Linked DNA regions of Homo sapiens: all the other regions are linked to region 5. Evidence: promoter capture Hi-C in 16 types of primary human blood cells and fetal thymus (Javierre and others, 2016). All regions are on one chromosome and are shown on one strand. The core of a region is centred on a gene start or on the middle of the fragment in contact, and the rest is flanking DNA. Distances in the headings are between cores, read along the strand shown.

Region 1 (2,700 bases), core at 40-2,539, 450 kb before region 5:
AGAAATAAAACATGTTGCAGAATTGTTAAAAATAACAATAATGTAGCCAGGCATGGTGGTGGGCACCTGTAATCTCAGCTACTTGGGAGGCTGAGGCAGAAGAATCACTTGAACCTGGAAGGCGGAGGTTGCAGTGAGCTGAGATCACACCACTGCACTCCAGCCTGGGGGACAGAGTGAAACTCTGTCTCAAACAAATAAACAAACAAACAAAGAAAATTAATGAAAACACTATATATTAGAACCCATGAGCTGTATTTTGAGAAGTACAATTAAATACCTTTCTTTTTACTAATGAAAGACAAAATGAAAGTAAGCTAATTGTTAACTAGTAAAACCACCAATGAAACTTATGGTAAGGAAAAGGAAAGAACAAATAAAACTAAAAATGTAAATTAGAAAAGAGGAAATTCAGGAAATCCATTAATATATCACATTAATCAGTCAAGGAGAGAAAACCCCATGTAATAATTGCCAAAGATGCTGAAAAAACCTTTGAGAAAATTTAATATCCTCTGCTAATTAAAAAATAAAAGCTCTTGATAAGATAGATTATGAGTACCTTCTTAACATGATTATATGTATGTATAACATACTTAATGATGAAAAATAAACATTCTCATCAAATTCAGGATCAAGAAAAGGATGTCTTCTATTGCTATTATCATTTTACATTTTTTAAGAAACACTAGCCAGTGTAATTGGGCAGACATGAAAAATCAATGATTAAAAATTTCTTTTGAAAAATGGTGAGAAAAAGGCCGGGCGCGGTGTCTCACGCCTGGAATCCCAGCACTTTGGGAGGCCGAGGCGGGTGGATCATGAGGTCAGGAGATCGAGACCATCCTGGCTAACATGGTGAAACCCCGTCTCTACTAAAAATACAAAAAATTAGCTGGGCGTGGTGGCGGGTGCCTGTAGTCCCAGCTACTTGGGAGGATGAGGCAGGAGAATGGCGTGAACCCAGGGGGCGGAGCTTGCAGTGAGCCAAGATCGTGCCGTTGCACTCCAGCCTGGGAGACAGAGCAAGACTCCGTCTCAAAAAAAAAAAAAAAGAAAAATAGTGAGAAAAGTATCCTTATTTGCAAATGGTAGGACTGTGTACCTTCCAAATCCAAGAGAACTAACAGGAATAAATTACTGGAAACAATAAAATAATAAGTGATAGGAAATGGGATTAATATACAAAATCAGTAGGTTTTCTAACATGAATATATTTGGAAAAAAAATATATGTATATATATATATATATATATATATATATATTTGAGACAAGGTCTCACTCTGTTGCCCAGGCAGGAATGCAGTGAGATGTGTTCATGGCTCACTGCAGCCTCAACCTCCCAGGCTCAGGTGATCCTCCCACCTCAGCCTCCCGGATAGCTGGGACTACAGGTGTGCACCACCACGCCCAACTAATTTTTTTTTTTTTTTTGTATTTTGTGCAGTGATGAAGTTTCACCATGTTGCCCAAGCTGGTCTCAAACTCCTGGGCTCAAATGATCTGCCTTCCCTGGCCTCCCAAAGTGTTGGGGTTGCAGGCGTGAGCCACTGTGCCTGGCTGAAAATATAGTTTTTTAAAACCCCATTTACAATAATAAAAAAAGGTTAAGTTCTTAGGAATGAACTTAGTAAAAAAATACAAAGACTATTTAAAAAAACTAACAACAACAAAAAGAATATTTAAAAACTTAACATAATATTAAGGTATATGAAAGAAACCTTGACTAAATAGATAGAATCAAATCATAAAATGTGGCCAGGTGCAGTGGCTCATACCTGTAATCCCAGCACTTTGGGAGGCTGAGACAGGAGAATTGCTTGAACCTGGCAGGCGCAGGTTGCAGTGAGCTGAGATCATGCCATTGCACTCCAGTCTGGGCAACAAGGCTGAAACTCTGTCTCAAAAGGCAAAAAAAAAAAAAAAAAAAAAAAATCATAAAAATGTAAATCATTCCTAAACTAATATATACATTTAACAAGAAAAGTGGATCGCCTGAGATGGGAAGTTGGAGACCAGCCTGACCAACATGGAGAAACCCTGTCTCTACTAAAAGTACAAAATTAGCCGGGTGTGGTGGCCCATACCTGTAATCCCAGCTATTTGGGAGGCTGAGACAGGAGAATTGCTTGAACCTGGAAGGTGGAGATTGCGATCAGCTGAGATCACGCCATTGCACTCCGGTCTGGGCAACAAGAGTGAAACTCTGTCTGAAAAGGAAAAAATAAAATAAATAAAAATGTAAATCATTCCTAAACTAATATTTAAATTTAACAAGGAAAGACAATTGATTCTAACATGTATATGGAAAAATAAACAAGCAAGAATAAACAGAAGTATGAAGATAAAAATAATGTTGACCTCTTAGATGTCCAGATAGCCTATTTGATGTTAAAATGCATTAATAATCTAAAATGAAAACAGTGACATTAGCAAATGAATAGACAAAAAAATGGAACAGAATAGAAACCTCAGACATAAATCCAAATACATATGGGAATTTAATATGTGATAAAGGTGGCATTTCAAATCTTTAGGAAAAAGATGCATTAGCCAATAAACGGTGTTGGAATATACGGCTAGCCTTGTGGAGGAAAATGATGAATGTTGGTTCCTGCCTCACTTTTTACACTATAATAAATTCCAGATGAATGAAATTAAATGTACCAGATGACAACTTGAGGATTTTATTCATTTGT
Region 2 (2,700 bases), core at 1-2,500, 430 kb before region 5:
TTTAAAAAAGTCTGTGTTGTCAAGTATATGGAAAATGGGCATTTCTCAGGGAAAACTAATACGTTTTCCTGGAAGATAATTTAGAAAACATTTAAAAAATATATTCCTTTTATACAGCCATAAATAATCATGTTTAAAAGAATATCTAATAAAATGGAAGAAAATTCACAAGATCGTGTTAAGTGAAGAAGGCAGAATACATCTTCGCAAGGCATTATTCCAATTATGCCAGACATGCCATGGATATACGTAGAGAAAACACCGGAGGCAACATACCAAAATATTAAATGTAATTGACTCTACGAGGTAAAACTGAGTTTTATGTTCCCCTATTTCCTATTTATGCAATAGATTTAAAAAGTATTTTTACGACTAATTATACAATTCAAAAATTGCCTGTGTTGAAAAGCATGAAAGTACATGAAATTGTACTACCCTGGAAACCCCAGGAAGTGTTTAGTTTGGAAAGCCAGGGCCACCTGCTAGTGGGTGAGTCATGGGCACAGGCTCGCACCTGCCACCGCAGACGCCACACAGGCTGCTGAGCCTTTCCAAGCGAAATGCCCCACGTGCGCCAACGGCCACCTCGGCCGTCGCCCCACGCTTGGCCCGCAGCCAGAGGAAGCCCAGCAACTTCTGCTCTTTCTTAATTTCTAGAAAAGAGTGAAGAGAGGCCTTTTCAAAGTTCGCAGGATCGGGCCTTTTTGTGCTCCACTTTGGAACAAATCGGAAGCTAGGGCCTTCCAGGTGCGCCACCGCCGTCCCGGGACCGCCGCGGCCGCAAGCGTCCGCACTGCGGCCGGGGTGCGCGGCCTGAGAAAGGCCCGGGCAACGACGCTCCGGGGGCTTGCCGGAGCCCTCTTTGAAGTCTCCCGACGGGCTCCCAGCCTCTCATAAGGCAGCTAAGGCCGAACACCCCGGTGACCATAGGCCAGCCACGCGGTCGCCCGGGGACGCGCGTGCTCCGCAGGGACAAAGGGTCGGGAAACTTGAGCTCCGGCCAGTCCCAGAGAAACCCGGGCTGGTGGTCGCCATGGCAACGGAGTCCGACCCTCCGAGGCCTGCCGCCCTGGCGCGGCAGTGGCTTGAGTGACCCGGCCCGCTCTTGGCGGGGGCGCCCGCGCCCCGGCCCCGGCAGTCCCTCCCCGCCCCCAGGCCGCGGCCGCGGGAGCCGGCGACTGACCCTCGGCAGCTCCTGTAGTCACGTGGCGCTGGGAACCCGGCGGGGGGAGGTTGGGGACGGGCCTGGCAGTTGTGAACTCGAACCTGCCGCTGTCGCCGCGGCGGGGCGGGGAGCGAGAGTGGGCCGCGGAGGCCGGCCTTCGGGCTCCATGGACGGGCGCCGCGTCCCTGCACAGCCCGCCGCAGAGGTACGGCCGGGGCAGGGGCGCGGGGCCACCGCGGGCCCGCGGGGGGCCGCTCCACCTGCGGGGCGCGTGACCGTGAGTGTGCGCGACCGTGTGTGAGTGCGCGGGGGGGGACGCTGCTGGATCTGCGGGGGTGGGGGAGCGCACCTGCGCACAGGCTCCGCGAGCTGCGCCGTGCGTGGGACCCGAAATGGCTCACTCGCAAGAACGGGACCCGTGTGCCCGGGAGCGTGGACGGAGGACACGCATCAGTACAAAAGGGCGGTGTGGGGCTTCTGCCACCCGCGGCCAGCCGCGATGCGGAAGGGGATTCTGACGGAGTCGTGGTCACACCAGCTGGCCCTGCGCAGCCCCATGGGAAATAGGCCTGGAATTCCTGTCGGGAGGAGGCTGGGGGAAGGGGAGCCAGCAGGGATTCCAGAGTTCCTGCCATAGGCCGGCCTTTGGCCATCAGGGAAAGCCCAGACTCTGGCCACAGAATGGAGAATTCGTTCCGTGACCTTACCAGGGAAGAAAGTGACCCCGAAAGACAGCAGTGTGCTTCCTTGTTGAAGGGGCACATTCATTTATTAATCCAATGTCCATTAAGGTCACTCTGCCAGGCAGGATGTGGGGCTTATGGCTGGTGCGTGTGGCTTTGTGGGGGGAGGGGTTGTGGCTGGTGAGGACACAAAGCTGACTGCCCTAGAGGAGCTCAGAGCCTCACTTCTGTTTTCTCTTCCCTCCCCACAGGTAAGGCTGGCCTCTCTGCAGTCAGAGGTCTGAGCTCTGCCATGGGGATAGGGGTGTCTTTATTACTGCAGTTTTCTCTAACACCTGGGGGCTACCGGAGTGTGGGCCGAAGCAGGCGCTGCAGCCGCGGAAGTATCCCCAGGAACATCCCCAAGAGGAGCTGGAAAAAGCCTCATCCCCAGCTCTGCAGTCTCCAGGGTAGAGTCTGGCCTTTGCTGTGCTCCCAAACCACGCCACAACAGGGGTGCACGGGCGTCCCCATCCCGGCGGAAGGAAATGGCCCTTTCTCATATCCTGGGGTCTTCCCTGTGCACAGTCTGACACTGGGAATGAGTGACCTTTGTGTTCCCTGAGAAGAGAGAGTGCGCTCTAGGGAATTTAGAAGGATGTGTCTGGAGCTTGTGAGCAGGCACAGAAGGGCCCTTAGGAGCCTAACTGCTTCCTTCCTCCTTCCGCGGAGGAGGCTCCTGTGCAGGAATCTGGGCTCCCCTGAGCTGTGGAAGAGCTGAACATGGGGCAGCCCCTGGCGAGGTTGGGGCAGGACCGGGCAGGGGACTGAGATTGCAGTCTCATCTTCCCTCCCCTTCTATTGCCCCAGTAA
Region 3 (2,700 bases), core at 5-2,504, 370 kb before region 5:
TGAAAAGGGACAGACCAACTCTGTCACCCCACTCTCCCTTCATCGGCCCACACTCAATACCAACACCAGTCTGGAGTGCATACTTGGAAGACTTGAAGGGGGAAAAGGAGTGAGAAGGAGGGGCTGTTGGAACCTTGAGCTGTGGGGAAGAGAGGCTTTGCTTAGGTGCTGGGGAGACTCCAGCTCCCACTTCAGCCCTGTGTCTGGGCCTGCTCCATGGTGGTGCTGAGGCCCTTCTGTGCCTGTGAAGCTGGACTATGAGAATTTTGTCTTTCTTGTGACTCCCTTTTCCACAGATCTTGGAGTTCAACAGGACACACAAGTCCTAGAACATTTAAAAACATAAGTAAATCCCCCTCCTTCTCCCACCTGGAGAACTTAGAATCGTCATGCCAACTTCTGGAGGCAATGGTCTTCAGATCCGCTTGGCTGTGGCCAAACTACAGGGTGTCATGGAGAAACACAGTCTGGTGGGAGGGGGCAGATGATGAAAGCAGAAGACAGGAAAGACAAAGACTTCTTGGTGTTATCTTCCATGGTGAGTGTGCAGTTTCCATATTCTCCAGCTATGAACTTGAACTCAATGGGAGAAATCTCCCAGTAAGATGTTATGTGGGTGGTGGCCGAGTAGGGGTGGGTTGGTCGCTGTGAACTGTCTGAGACTCTCCTGTCTTAACATTGGAGAAATGGAGACTTGAAGAGGTGAAGCAAATTTCCCTAGATGACTTGGGAACGTTGGGTTGTGGGGAGTTGGGTTTGAACTTGGACATTCAGTTTTGAATCCACGTGCTTACAGAGGGGTAGAGAAGGCTCTAGGGCATGAGAGTCAATTACTCAGCAGAGAAGGGAAAGGGAGAAGATTTCACACATTCCTGCCCTTCTGAGTTGATTTCAATCCTATCTGAGTAATAGACATCATTATGGTTAATATTTGTCTCTGATTGGTCGTCTTTGTTTTGACTCCCCCTGAATTAAGGATTCAAGGGCAAGTAGTTTATTTGAGAGTGGATCCCGAGAAACCCTGGTGGGGGAGTGGGAAAGTGAGAAAGAGAGGAGGCCACTGGAGGATGACTGGTAAGTTCATTTCCACTTTGGGCCACTGAGCTTGATCCTGCTGGGGAACCCTGGCAGGTACGTCTCAGATGCCAACCATGGAGCAAGAACACAGGGGTGTTCTTTCCATCTGGCCTTGGTGGCAGCATCTCCCAGGGGCACTGTGTCCCTGGTGCTCTGGTCTGTGGAGAGTCATAGGTGCTCTTGTTAAGCATCTGTGTGCACGGAGAGGAGAGTGCTTGGGAGGGATAGGGGGTGGCATCAAGGGCATCTGCAAACCTCAGGCAGCTGGAGGATGGCCAGGTGGCTGCCTCTCTGTAGCTCGTGTCCTGAAGTGTCTTTCTGTGCCCACTTATTTGTGCTCGACCTTGGGCTGCAAGTTTGTTGATAGTTACAGGGGGTGGCTCCAGCCACCGTGTTGGGTGTCTCACCCTGTCCAACCCCTGATCTTTATTGTGGACCAGGCTATAGACAGATCTTTGTCAGCTGCCCCTGTGAGTCTTCTGTGCAGACACCTTCCTGTGGAAGAGTTGGTCTCTGGTCACTGTTTCAAGTCTCTGCTGCGGCCACAGCTTTCTTATCTCTCACTTTGGGGATCTCAGGAAATGAGACACCAGGAGGTGTCTGCTGTACAAAATCCTATTTGCTCAAGGAACCTGCATATCTCAGCTCATGTTTCTTAATCATTTTTCTGATTCTAAAAAGTCGATGACAAAACTTCGATAGAAACACAGTTCTAGCATTTGGGATTGGAGGAAGAAGTGTATTCAGCATTCTACCTTCTTCCTGATTCTGTGAGCTTAGACCTGCTTCCACTTTCAATCTCTCTCATTGCAGGCTGAAGAGGACTGGCCTTTCAGTGGCCCTCGTGGAACGGTAGGAAGCTGAGCTGGACTCTCTGCCACATCGTTCGGTTCCCACAACAGCCTGGTAGGTCGGGGTAGTCACTTCCATTTGGGAGATGAGGAAGTCGAAGGAGAGAGCTAGAGTGAGCCAGAACTTAGGGCTGATCACAAATTGGATGAGTAATTGAGATAACTAGGATGGCCCCTAGCTAAGGCTGCAGGCAATGCCCCAAGGAGACTGTCACCTTTTTGTTACAATTTTCCAGGGTGTGATAGGACTTAGGAGGATGGTGTGTCTGTCCCTAGGACTGTAGGTTGTTCTAGAGAAAAACAAAATTTTAAGGACTTTTTCTTTGTGCATATGCCTCAGGTAGGCATCATGTGGGCCTAGGCAATAGGACCTAGGAAGGAGACTCCCCTGTTCCCAGGCCTGCCGCTCCTACTCAGGAGGCTGAAGGGTCCCCACCCCAACTAACCACAGAGTCAGACACATTCTTCCTAACACACCTTCCTCCCGACCTCCCAGCTTCCCTCTTTGTCACTGAAGTCATAGACTTTTTTTTTTGAAGAATTATCAACCTAAATAACAAACAGAAGCGATTCTCCAAAGATGATGAATTTATTTGGAAATGAGCAGCATGATTGTGATGCGGAGTGCCCGTGCCACAGCAGCCATGGGCGCATCCAGGAGGCTGAGGCAAGGGGAAGCTTTTAAGGGCACAAGGAAGACTGGGTGTGGTGACTCACGCCTATAATCCCAGCACTTTGGGAGGCTGAGTCGGGTGGATCACTTGAGGTCCGG
Region 4 (2,700 bases), core at 182-2,681, 350 kb before region 5:
GGCTGCCTTTACAGTCTTCAGTGAATTATAGGAAGAACGCTCTCTTTTTCTCTCAGTTGCTCTGCTGGGGTCTCCAGAGTGGCCTGGGAAATTGAGCAGAGGGAAATGTGGGCTGGCAGAGCGTGAGTGAGGGTGAGTTTGGGTACCTTTTTGTCCTTAAGTGCACTTTCTACATGTTGGGGTGAAGTGCTACTGGCTGGGAAGCTGTATGTGTGGTAGGAGTGTGCATGTGCGTGTGTGTATGTGGGTGTGTGTGTGTAGGTCCTGACATCATGTGGAGCTGCAGGCAGGAGTCCAGCCAAGACTCATTGGTTTGGTCATACTCTGCTGGGGAACCATGCAAGGCTGTGTCGCTTAATTGGGAAAGAAATTTCTTTCTTCTTCAGACCTGTGGGAGGCCTCTGCTTCCTTCAGCTTGCTGTTTTCTCACTAGTGTCTTTTTTTCTTAAATTAATTTACAGAGACATCTCACTTCACTTGCATATATATGTGTGTGTGTATGTATATATGTATATATATGTATATATGTATGTATATATGTATATATGTGTATATATGTATATATATGTGTGTATATGTGTGTGTGTGTGTGTGTGAGATATATATATATATATATATATATATATATATATACATGCGAGTGGAACTACAGGCACCCACCACCATGCCTGGCTAATTTTTGTACTTTTAATAAAGACGGGGATTTCATCATGTTGACCAGGCTGGTCTCAAACTCCTGATCTCGAGGGATCTACCTGCCTTGGCCTCTGAAAGTGTTGGGGTTACAGGCGTGAGCCACTGCGCCCGGCCTCCCTCTCAGTTCTAAAAACCGTTTTTCTTCTTTTCTTCACATTTCTGTCTCTCCTGTGATCGTTCATTCCTTTACCTCCACGTATTGGGCATATACTACATGCCAGGCACAATGTTAGGGCCTGGGGACACAGAACAAAACAGGCATGTTTGGAGTTTCAGCACATGCTGTTATGGAGCTTTGTACCAAGGGTAGTACAGAGAACATTTAGACATTTAAAAATAAAATTAATAAATAATTATAAAATATAAATAATATCAGATAGAATCAATGTTATGAAGAAAATTGAGGAGAGAGAGGAGATAGGGCATTAGTGTGAGAGCTTCTCTCCATAGGGTGTATCTGGGTGAAAGATGCTCTTAGAAGATCCCCGGTGCTGATTAGGTTTGAACCCACCGGAAATATTTTTCCCCTGGTGGACCGGTTCTGAGGTTCTGAGGTGTCTGAAGCTGCGGTGGGCTCTGCCCCGTGCCGTGCAGCCATCCAGATGATTCCAGAGAGAGGCCTCTGCCAAGGCCCTTGTGGGCTTTGCCTCGCCCTTTTCGAAAGTGGGCCCTGCCACTGCCTTTACTACCTCCCTGGGTCATTCCCTGCAGTGCAGCCTCTCCCCTGAGTGCCACAGACCCCATTTTTTGAAAAGGTATGAACCACCAAATTGCTGCACAGAAAAAGGGCTTTCCCACTCTTCACTTTCTTCGGCGTATCTGCTGCATTTTGCTTGTTCTTCAAGTCAATAACCATCAACTCAGAAACAAGTATTTATCAGATACTTTCTTTATGTTGTAGATACAGTGGTGAGAAAAACAGAGCAAGTCCTTATTCTCATGGAACTCACCTGTAGTGGTGGCAGACTAAAAAGCACTAAGCAACTAAATGCAGATGTGAAGGGTGACAGTAGTGGGTGTTGGGTACGGGGCGGGGGGCACAGAGGAGTCACGACTCTTAGGGTGGCAGTGGTGGGTGCTGGGTATGGGGCGGGGGTGCCCGTGGGGCATAGAGGGGTGGACAGCTCTTAGGGTGGCAGTGGCGGGTGCTAGGTATGGGGTGGGGGTGTCAGTGGGGCACAGAGGCATGGACAGCTCTTTAATAGCGGGTGGAGGCTGGAGAGGGCCTCCTGTACTAAGGGGACAGTGTGATAGAGACCTAAGGGAAGTGCTCAGGCACATGTCTTGCACATGTCTGCAAGGGACAATGCCCCAGTTCAGATGAACAGCAAGCATGTTTGAAGTACAGCGCAGGCTGATGTGACTATGGCACACAATGTGAGGGGAAGGGGGTGGGAGATGAGGTCAGAGAGCAGCTGGGCACAAGGTAGGGTCTCGTGACCACTATAAAGGCTTTGCCTTTTACTTTGAATGGGTGGAGAGTCACTGGGGGTGGGGGGAGGTTTAGAATGAAGCGTGACATTACCTGTCTCTTGTTTTAACAGGAGAGGAGAACTGTGGCTATTGGTGGACAATAGACAGCTGGAGAAGGGTGGAAACCGGGGAGCAGTGTTAATATTACTGCAAAAGTCCAAAGAGGAGCTGATGACCAGTTCAATCTGGAAAAGTTAGGAAAGGCTTGACATGGAGCCTCAGAGTCCTTGGGCTAAGTGATGGAGAATGGGTAGGAACGTTCCAGGCAGACAGGAGGATGGGGTGCAGGCAAGGGTGTGCTGGACCATCTGGGAAGCTGTAGCTAAGGTGTCAGTGGAGAGATGGGGCCTTGATTGTGGAAGGTACCACAGTAACAGGCTGCACATTCTTTTTGAGCCTACAGGAACACTTACAAAAATTTCACTGAGCCAAAAAGCAAATCTCAACCAATGACAAATAGTTTATACAGACATTGTTCTCTGGCCACAATGCAGCATTTGAAATAAAAAGGTAGTAGATGTCTCAATACAT
Region 5 (2,700 bases), core at 1-2,500:
ACCAACCTTCGCCGTTGGGAGACACGGATCCAAGTTCTGTTGCTGTCATTCAGATGTTTAACTTCTGAAAGATACGTTCCATTTGCGGAAAATACATCCTCTTTTTCTCAGTGATTTAAAATTCTCTCCTGAGCAGAAATGAAGTTCCCCTAGGAATGTAGGCCTATTCTAGTCCTTATATTCTGCCCATTGGCATGTCTCATGGGCTAGGCATCATTACCACAATTTTAACATGGAGCTTAATGCTAATTGGGCTGTTTCATGATCCCCTCGTGTGGTTTTTCTTTCAGAATTGTCATGGCCATTTTTGCTAGACTACTTCTTCACATGCACTTTAGAATCAGCTTGCCTGGCTCTAAAATAAATCCTGCATAGGCAATTCTAATGGACATCCTGGCTAAGTATCACAGTTTAAATCAAATATTATTAACAATTCTAATAACACCTCCCATTCGTACTCTACCTACTTTTCAAAGCAGTTTCACTCTTTCACCCACCTGGCCTCCTTGGGGTTAGAAAGGACAGGAGTTAGACAATTCCGCACACGTACAAAGGAGCTTCAGACTGCTTCCAGCCCAGCCCCAGATTCCAGCCAGACCTTCCCTTGACGGCCCAGGCCTCGCCCTGAGGGCACCTCGGGTTCCAGCTACCTCCGGGCCCCCAGGACCACCGCTTCCCCCGCCCCACGCCAACCCCTAGATCTGCCTCGCCCCCGCCTGAAGAGTCGGATCTGAACCAGGCCGGCACCACGGAGATTCCCCTGCGGGCCGCCCGACGCCTGGTAGGTGGTGGGCTCTTCCCGGCTGCCCCGAACACTTTCCTCTGTCCAGCTCTTCCCGTGCCCCGGGGCTGGGGAAAGCGTCCGGCAGCCCCGCCGCTCCCTGGCCCCGTCCCAGGAGCCACCCCACCGTAGGGCTCCAGCCAGGGTCCAGGCGTGCAGGCGGCAGAAGGTGGACGGGACGCGCCAGCCCCAGGCCTCTCCTCCCGCTCTCCAGCCGTTTTTCTGGGGAGAAACACCTGCACCCAGCTGTCCCTCCCTCCTACGTGAGTCCTCCTGGAAACCAGGTTGGAGGAAGAAAGACGTCCTGTGGACAGGACGGGGTGGGGGCATGGCCCTGGGGACTCCTCGTGACAGAGGGTCCTGCGGCAAGAGGGTCTCCCGGGCCGCGGAGGCCCTGCCTCACCTGCAGTCCTCCGGGAGCCCGCGGCCGAGCAGAGCGGACACTAGCTGACCCCGAGCAGGGGAGCGACGGGAGGGCGGAGACGGCAGATGCACGGGTGGGGGCTGCGGCCCCGCCCAGGCTGCGCGGTTTCCCGAAACCAGCTGCGGCCCGGGGGCCCGGCAAAGGGGGTTCCGCCCGGAGGAGCGGACCGGGCGGGAGAAGACCGAGCCCCCGCGCGCCCCCTGCGCTCCCACTCGCGCACACTTGCACGCCGGCCCTGGCCGGGCGGGGCTGGAGGCGAGAACGACCCCACGGGCTTTCCCAGGGCCGTCCGCCCGCGGACCCTCCCAGCTCCCCAGAGCCCAGTGACCCTCGCGCAGCAGGAGAACCCCAGACGGACCCCAGGCCCTGCAGCCTGTCATGAACCCGAGGGGCTGAAGTTCAGCCCCACCCCCGCCTCCCCTCCCCGCCTCCCCCTCCAACTCTCAACCCACTTCTCCAGCCAGCGCCCCAGCCCTCCCGCCGCCCGCTCGCAGGTCCCGAGGAGCGCAGGTGAGGCGGCACCCCACTCCCGGCGGCCCCCGGGCCTCCTTCCGCACGCACCCCGAGCTGCCTCCGCACAGTTGGAGGAGCGTAGGAGGGACCCCCACCCAGGGATGACACTCCAGGAAGGGGACTGCAGAGGAAGCCAGGTGCGGCCCCGGCTTTTGACCTACCTCCGCACCGCAGCGCGGTCCTTCACGGGGCAGGGGCGGCGTGAACCCGTCGGGCGTGAGCAGCAGTCGGTGGAGCGGGAGGTCGGCGGTGGCGGGGATGGGGGTATCCGGAGCGCAGCCGGGGCGCAGCTGCTGGCACAGGAGCTCCACAGGCAGCCAAGGACTCGGTCCTGTCCCAGAGCCTGCGGACTGTGGAGGGGAGGCCGCAGGAAGAGCCCGGGAGGAGGGGGTGAGGGGTCGAGGTGTGGGGCGCTGCTTGACCCAGACGCCAGGGCCCTGGGAGGAGGATGAGGGGGACAGAGCAGATCTTGGGCGAAAGGGGAGGTTCCCGCAGGCTCTGTAGTCGCCGCAGTTCCAGCATGGTCAGCACCCCCTCTGCTACACACATTCCCCTCGTGAGGGGCCAGGGGTGCGGCCCTGTGACCAGGACAGCCATTCATTGGGTGACTTTGAGCCACCACTGGCCCCTGACCTCCCCAACTCCAATGAAATCTGCGAAAATCTTCTGACAGCCGTTCCTCTCTGGTGCTCCCTTCCTCATAGACTGTGTCCCTGACAATGGGAACAGCCGACAGTGATGAGATGGCCCCGGAGGCCCCACAGCACACCCACATCGATGTGCACATCCACCAGGAGTCTGCCCTGGCCAAGCTCCTGCTCACCTGCTGCTCTGCGCTGCGGCCCCGGGCCACCCAGGCCAGGGGCAGCAGCCGGCTGCTGGTGGCCTCGTGGGTGAGTGTGACGGCCTGCCTCGTCGGGCGGCGGGAGGAACTCCCCACCTCCAGCCGCAGCAGCACTCTCTGCCAGCCTCCCTCTGAACA
Region 6 (2,700 bases), core at 100-2,599, 290 kb before region 5:
TATCTGTTTATAGCACGGCTTACTGAATTTTTTTTTTTTTTTTCTTTTTTTATTGATCATTCTTGGGTGTTTCTCGCAGAGGGGGATTTGGCAGGGTCATAGGACAATAGTGGAGGGAAGGTCAGCAGATAAACAAGTGAACAAAGGTCTCTGGTTTTCCTAAGCAGAGGACCCTGCGGCCTTCCGCAGTGTTTGTGTCCCTGGGTACTTGAGATTAGGGAGTGGTGATGACTCTTAAGGAGCCTGCTGCCTTCAAGCATCTGTTTAACAAACCACATCTGGCACCGCCCTTAATCCATTTAACCCTGAGTGGACACAGCACATGTTTCAGAGAGCACAGGGTTGGGGGTAAGGTCATAGATCAACAGGATCCCAAGGCAGAAGAATTTTTCTTAGTACAGAACAAAATGAAAAGTCTCCCATGTCTACCTCTTTCTACACAGACACAGCAACCATCCGATTTCTCAATCTTTTCCCCACCTTTCCCCCTTTTCTATTCCACAAAACCGCCATTGTTATCATGGCCTGTTCTCAATGAGCTGTTGGGTACACCCCAGACGGGGTGGTGGCCGGGCAGAAGGGCTCCTCACTTCCCAGTAGGGGTGGCCGGGCAGAGGTGCCCCTCACCTCCCGGACGGGGCGGCTGGCCGGGCGGGGGGCTGACCCCCCCACCTCCCTCCCGGACGGGGCGGCGGGCCGGGCGGGGGGCTGACCCCCCCACCGCTTACTGAATATTTTAAGCCCACTGTTGATACTTCTGTTTAGAAAAAAAGATTCAAAATATTACTGCTCATTGACAAAGCATTTGGTCACCCAAGATCTCTTATGGAGATATACAAGGAGATTTCATGCCTGCTAATACAACATCCCTTCTGCAGCTCATGGATCAAGGATAATTTTGACTTTTGAGCCTTATTATTTAAGAAATATATTTTATAAGGCTATAGTTGCCATAAATAGTGATTCTTCTGATAAACCTGGGCAAAGTAAATTGAAAACTTTCTGGGAAGGATTCACCATTCTAGATACCATTAACAACATTCATGATTCATGAGAGGAGATAAAAATATTAATGTTAACAACAGTTTGGAAGAAGTTGATTCCAACCCTCATAGATGACTTGGAGGGGTTCGAGACTTCATTGGAGGGAATCACTACAGATGTGGTGGAGGTAGCAAGAGAAGTAGAATTAGAAGTGGAGGCCAGGTGTGTTGGTTCATGCCTGTAATCCTAGCACTTTGGGAGGCCAAGGCAGGAGGATCACTTGAAACTAGGAGTTTGAGACCACACTGGGCAACACAGTGAGATCCTGTCTCAACAAAAAAAAAAATAATTAGTAAGACATGGTGGTGTGTGCCTGTAGTCCCAGCTGCTTGGGAGGCTGAGGTGTGAGCATCACTTGAGCCCAGGAGCTCAAGGCTGCAGTGAGCTATGATCACACTACTGTACTCAAGCCTGGGTGACAGAGTGAGACCCTGTCTCTAACAACAACAAAAGAAGAATGTAGGCTGAAGATGTGACTGAATTGCTGCAATCTCATGATAAAACTTGAATGGATGAGGAGCTGCTTCTTATGGATGAGAAAAGAAACTGATTTCTTGAGATGGAAATGACACTATGAGAATGAAAAGGCATAAGAATGATACAATGGACTTTGGGGACTTGGGGAAAGGGTGGGAGGGAGGTGAAGAATAAAAGCCTACACACTGGGCACAGTGTACACTGCTCAGGTGATGGCACCAAAATCTCAGAAATCACCACTACAGAACCTATCCCTGTAACCAAACACTACCCAACCCCCCAAAACCTATTGAAATAAAAAATAAATAAAATCTCCTTCTTCATCTCAAAAAAAAAAAAACTACTTTTGGCGAAGATGCTGTGAACATTATGAAATGACAACAAAGGATTTAGAATATTAAATAAACTTGATAAACAGCAGCAGGGTTTGAGAAGATTGACTTCAATTTTGAAACAAGTTCTACTATGCTTAAAATGCGATCAAACAGCATCACACATGCTACAGAGAAACATTTTGTGAGAGGAAGAGTCATTCTATGTGACAAACCTCATTGTTATCTTAGTTTAGGAAATTGCTACAGCCACCCCAGCCTTCAGCAATCACCATCTTGATCAATCAGCAGCTATCAATACTGAGGCAAGACCCTCCACCAGCAGAAAGATTATGACTCACTGAAGGCTCGGAGGATTGTTAGCATCTTTTAGCAATAAAGTATTTTTAAATTAAAGCGCATATATTGTTTTCTAGACATAATGCTATTGCACATGTAATAGATTACGGTGTAGTATAAACATAACTTTTATATGCCCTGAGAAACCAAAAAATTCATGTGGCTCTTTTTATAGTTACATTTGCTTTATTGCAGTTGCTGGCATTGAACTTGCAATATCTCTGAGGTGTGCCTGTAGTATCTATAAAGGGGTGAGAAGGGTACTCAGCATACAGTAAGTGATCAGCAAGTGTCAGCTAGTAGCAGTGGTGTCAGCAATAGTAATGGTAATGGTAATACTCTTGATGTCAGTCCCAGGATCGTGGTTTGGTCTCCTTAAGCTCACGTATTATACAATTTCACATCATAGGTGTCCAGATACATAAATAGAACTGAAGGCCCTAAAGGGAGAGACAGAGTTGGCGGGCTTGGAAAGCACTTACCTCATGTTACCTATGCACTGCAGACA
Region 7 (2,700 bases), core at 174-2,673, 490 kb before region 5:
TTTCATATATGTGTATTTCTAACCCTTATTATTGTCACTGGATAGTCCAACTCTGTAAAACATTTGAAAAGATTTATTCTGAGCCAAGTATGAGTGACCATGGCCCATGACACAGTCGTCAGGAGACCCTGAGATCATGTGGGTGGGGCACAGCCTAGTTTTATACATTTTAGGGAGATAGGAAATATCAATCAAATACATGTAAGATGTACATTGATTTGGTTCATGTCAGGCCTCTGAGCCGAAGCTCACCCATTGTAACCTCTGTGACCTGCACATGTACATCCAGATGGCCTGCAGGAGCCAAGAAGTCTGGTGCAGCCAAAAAACCACAAAAGAAGTAAAACAGCCAGTTCCTGCCTTAACTGATTAACCAACATTACATGCCACCATTGTGACTTGTCCCTGCCCTACCTTAACTGATCAGTCGACCTTGTGAAATTCTTCTTCTGGACAATAAGACTTATGATCTCCCCACCATGTACCTTGTGACCCCCTCCTCTGCTAACAATAAATAACCACCTTTTACTGTAATTTTTCATTACCTACCCAACTCCTATAAAGCAACCCCTTCCCCATCTCCCTTCGACGCCTTTTTCAGACTCAGTCCGCCTGCACCCAGGTGATTAAAAAGCTTTATTGCTCACACAAAGCCTGTTAGGTGGTCTCTTCACACAGAGGCGCTTGACATTTGGTGCCATGACTTGGTTCGGGGGACCTCCCTCCAGAGATCAATCGCCTGTCCTCCTGCTCTTTGCTCCATGAGAAAATCCACTTACAACCTCAGGTCCTCAGACCAGCCCAAACAAAACACCTCACCAATTTTAAATTGGGTAAGTGGCCTCTTTTTATTCTCTTCTCTAACCTCTGTCGCTATCCCTCAACCTCTTTCTCCTTTCAATTTCCACGTCACCCTTCAATCTCTCCCTTCCCTTCATTTCCTTTTGCTTTCTGGTAGAGACAGAGAAGACACGTTTTATCTGTGGACTCCAAACTCTGGAGCTGGTCACAGACTCGGGAAGACAGTCTTTCCTTGGTGTCTAATCACTGCGGGGACGCCTGCCTGATTATTCACCCGCATTCCAGAAGTGTTTAATCACTGCGGGGACACCTGCTTTGATCCTCCACCTTGGTGGCAAGTACAACCTCCCCTGGGTGGCAAGTACCACCCCCCTCTCTTCGAGTCTCTACCCCCTCTTTTCTTGGAACTTACCTTTTTCCTATGGGCAACCTTCCACCCTCCATTCCTCCTTCTTCCGCCTTAGCCTGTGTTCTTAAAAACTTAAAACCTCTTAAACTCTCACCTGACCTAAAACCTAAGAGTCTTATTTTCTTCTGCAACTCCGCTTGGCCCCAATACAAGCTCGACAATGGTTCCAAGTGGCCAGAAAACGGCACTTTCGATTTCTCCATCCCACAAGACCTAGATAAATTTTGTCGAAAAATGGGCAAATGGTCTGAGGTGCCTTACGTCCAGGCATTTTTTATACTTCGTTCCCTCCCTAGCCTCTGCTCCCAATGCAGCTCATCCCAAATCCTTCTTCTTTCTCTCCTGTCCGCTTCTTCAGTCTCTACCCCAACCTCAGAGTCTTCTGAATCCTCCTTTTCTGCAGACCCCTCTGACCTCTCTCCCCCTCCCCAGGCCACTCCTTGACAGGCTGAATCAAGTCCCAATTCCTCCTCAGCCTCTGCTCCCCCACCTTATAATTCTTCTATCACCTCCCCTCCTCACACTCAGTCTGGCTTACAGTTTCATTCCATGACTAGCTCTCCTCCCACCTGCCCAACAGTTTCCTCTTAGAGAGGTGGCTGGAGCTGAGGGCACAGTAAGGGTTCATGTACCTTTTTCTCTATCAGACCTTTTCCAAATCAGTCAGCATCTGGGCTCTTTCTCATCAGACCCCACTAAATATATACAAGAATTCCAATATTTGACTCAGTCCTACAATTTAACCTGGAGTGATTTAAATGTCATCCTGACCTCTCCCGTCTCCCCAGATGAGCGGGAAAGAGTTTATACCCTAGCCCATTCTCACACTGACACCTGCTTGCATCGTGAGCCAGACCTCCAAGAAGGCATCAGGGCAGTTCCCCGAGATGATCCCCAAAGGGAATACCAGACAGGCTTCCCAGGTATAGCTAGGTGAGATTACATGGTCTCTTGCCTAGTTGAAGGGCTAAAAAAGGCAGCATACAAAGCTGTTAGTTATGACAAGCTTAAAGAAGCCACTCAAGGTAAAGATGAAAACCCAGCCCAGTTCTTGGCCCGCTTGGTGGCTACCCTTAGACGCTTTACAGCCCTAGACCCTCGAGGGCCAGAAGGCCATCTTATTCTCAATATGTGTTTTATCACCCAGTCAGCTCCTGACATTAGAAAAAAGCTTCAAAAATTGGAATCTGGCCCTCAAACCCCACAACAGGAATTAATCAACCTCGCCTTCAAGGTGTTCAACAATAAAGAGGCAGCCAAGCGGCAACGCATTTCAGAGCTGCAACTGCTTGCGCCTGCTGTAAGACAAACCCCAGCCATGCCTTCAGCACACAAAAACTTCAGAACAACCAAACCACAGCCTCCAGCTACTCCTTTAAATCCTCCTCATGGACCTTGATTCAAGTGCCGCAAAACTGGCCACTAGACCAAGAAATGCCCACAGCCCAGGATTCTTCCTAAGCCGTGTCCCACCTGTGCGGGACCCCACT

The links. Contacts are between HindIII fragments. The CHiCAGO score rates a contact against its expected background, and 5 or more counts as called.
Region 1: a contact is called between a fragment that was not itself captured here and the fragment with the promoter of TMEM176B in region 5, in 6 of 17 cell types (naive CD8 T cells, non-activated CD4 T cells, activated CD4 T cells and 3 more). The highest score is 7.3, in naive CD8 T cells.
Region 2: a contact is called between the fragment with the promoter of REPIN1 here and the fragment with the promoter of TMEM176B in region 5, in 8 of 17 cell types (monocytes, total CD8 T cells, naive CD8 T cells and 5 more). The highest score is 10.4, in monocytes.
Region 3: a fragment that was not itself captured here is called in contact with the fragment with the promoter of TMEM176B in region 5 in 11 of 17 cell types (non-activated CD4 T cells, naive CD4 T cells, total CD8 T cells and 8 more); the score reaches 11.4 in non-activated CD4 T cells.
Region 4: a fragment that was not itself captured here is called in contact with the fragment with the promoter of TMEM176B in region 5 in 4 of 17 cell types (monocytes, M1 macrophages, M0 macrophages and 1 more); the score reaches 7.2 in monocytes.
Region 6: a contact is called between a fragment that was not itself captured here and the fragment with the promoter of TMEM176B in region 5, in 1 of 17 cell types (monocytes). The highest score is 5.7, in monocytes.
Region 7: a fragment that was not itself captured here is called in contact with the fragment with the promoter of TMEM176B in region 5 in 4 of 17 cell types (total CD4 T cells, naive CD4 T cells, fetal thymus and 1 more); the score reaches 6.4 in total CD4 T cells.

The regions. Positions count from the first base shown.
Region 1 is chr7:150,348,885-150,351,584 of GRCh38, forward strand. The region is part of intron 2 of LOC107986858 (a long non-coding RNA gene); the gene reads left to right. Among named protein-coding and RNA genes, the nearest start is that of RARRES2, 8.6 kb to the left of the region's middle. The HindIII fragment of the contact is 7,789 bases long and covers 1-2,700 here.
Region 2 is chr7:150,367,572-150,370,271 of GRCh38, forward strand. REPIN1 (replication initiator 1) reads left to right here and starts at 1,251. Exons shown (of 3, transcript NM_001099695.2): 1 at 1,251-1,370; 2 at 2,100-2,297. The coding sequence starts at 2,141. The region is part of intron 3 of REPIN1-AS1 (REPIN1 antisense RNA 1); the gene reads right to left. RefSeq lists enhancers at 725-784, 824-1,628, 1,629-2,434, 2,435-2,700 and silencers at 1,035-1,504, 2,015-2,164. The HindIII fragment of the contact is 10,402 bases long and covers 1-2,700 here.
Region 3 is chr7:150,431,847-150,434,546 of GRCh38, forward strand. LINC00996 (long intergenic non-protein coding RNA 996) reads left to right here and starts at 1,808. Exons shown (of 4, transcript NR_034033.1): 1 at 1,808-1,983. RefSeq lists an enhancer at 1,949-2,048. The HindIII fragment of the contact is 2,700 bases long and covers 1-2,604 here.
Region 4 is chr7:150,452,078-150,454,777 of GRCh38, forward strand. All of the region lies in intron 1 of GIMAP8 (GTPase, IMAP family member 8), which reads left to right. Among named protein-coding and RNA genes, the nearest start is that of GIMAP8, 2.8 kb to the left of the region's middle. The HindIII fragment of the contact is 4,164 bases long and covers 1-2,700 here.
Region 5 is chr7:150,799,114-150,801,813 of GRCh38, forward strand. TMEM176B (transmembrane protein 176B) reads right to left here and starts at 1,251. Exons shown (of 7, transcript NM_001101312.2): 1 at 1,185-1,251. It overlaps TMEM176A (transmembrane protein 176A), which reads left to right and starts at 1,656. Exons shown (of 7, transcript NM_018487.3): 1 at 1,656-1,715; 2 at 2,423-2,611. The coding sequence starts at 2,438. RefSeq lists enhancers at 248-947, 948-1,647, 1,648-2,347. The HindIII fragment of the contact is 5,518 bases long and covers 1-2,700 here.
Region 6 is chr7:150,505,680-150,508,379 of GRCh38, forward strand. No RefSeq gene overlaps it. Among named protein-coding and RNA genes, the nearest start is that of GIMAP7, 7.8 kb to the right of the region's middle. The HindIII fragment of the contact is 4,149 bases long and covers 1-2,700 here.
Region 7 is chr7:150,307,014-150,309,713 of GRCh38, forward strand. All of the region lies in intron 1 of ACTR3C (actin related protein 3C), which reads right to left. It also overlaps a transcript of LRRC61 not described here. Among named protein-coding and RNA genes, the nearest start is that of LRRC61, 15 kb to the right of the region's middle. The HindIII fragment of the contact is 1,582 bases long and covers 633-2,214 here.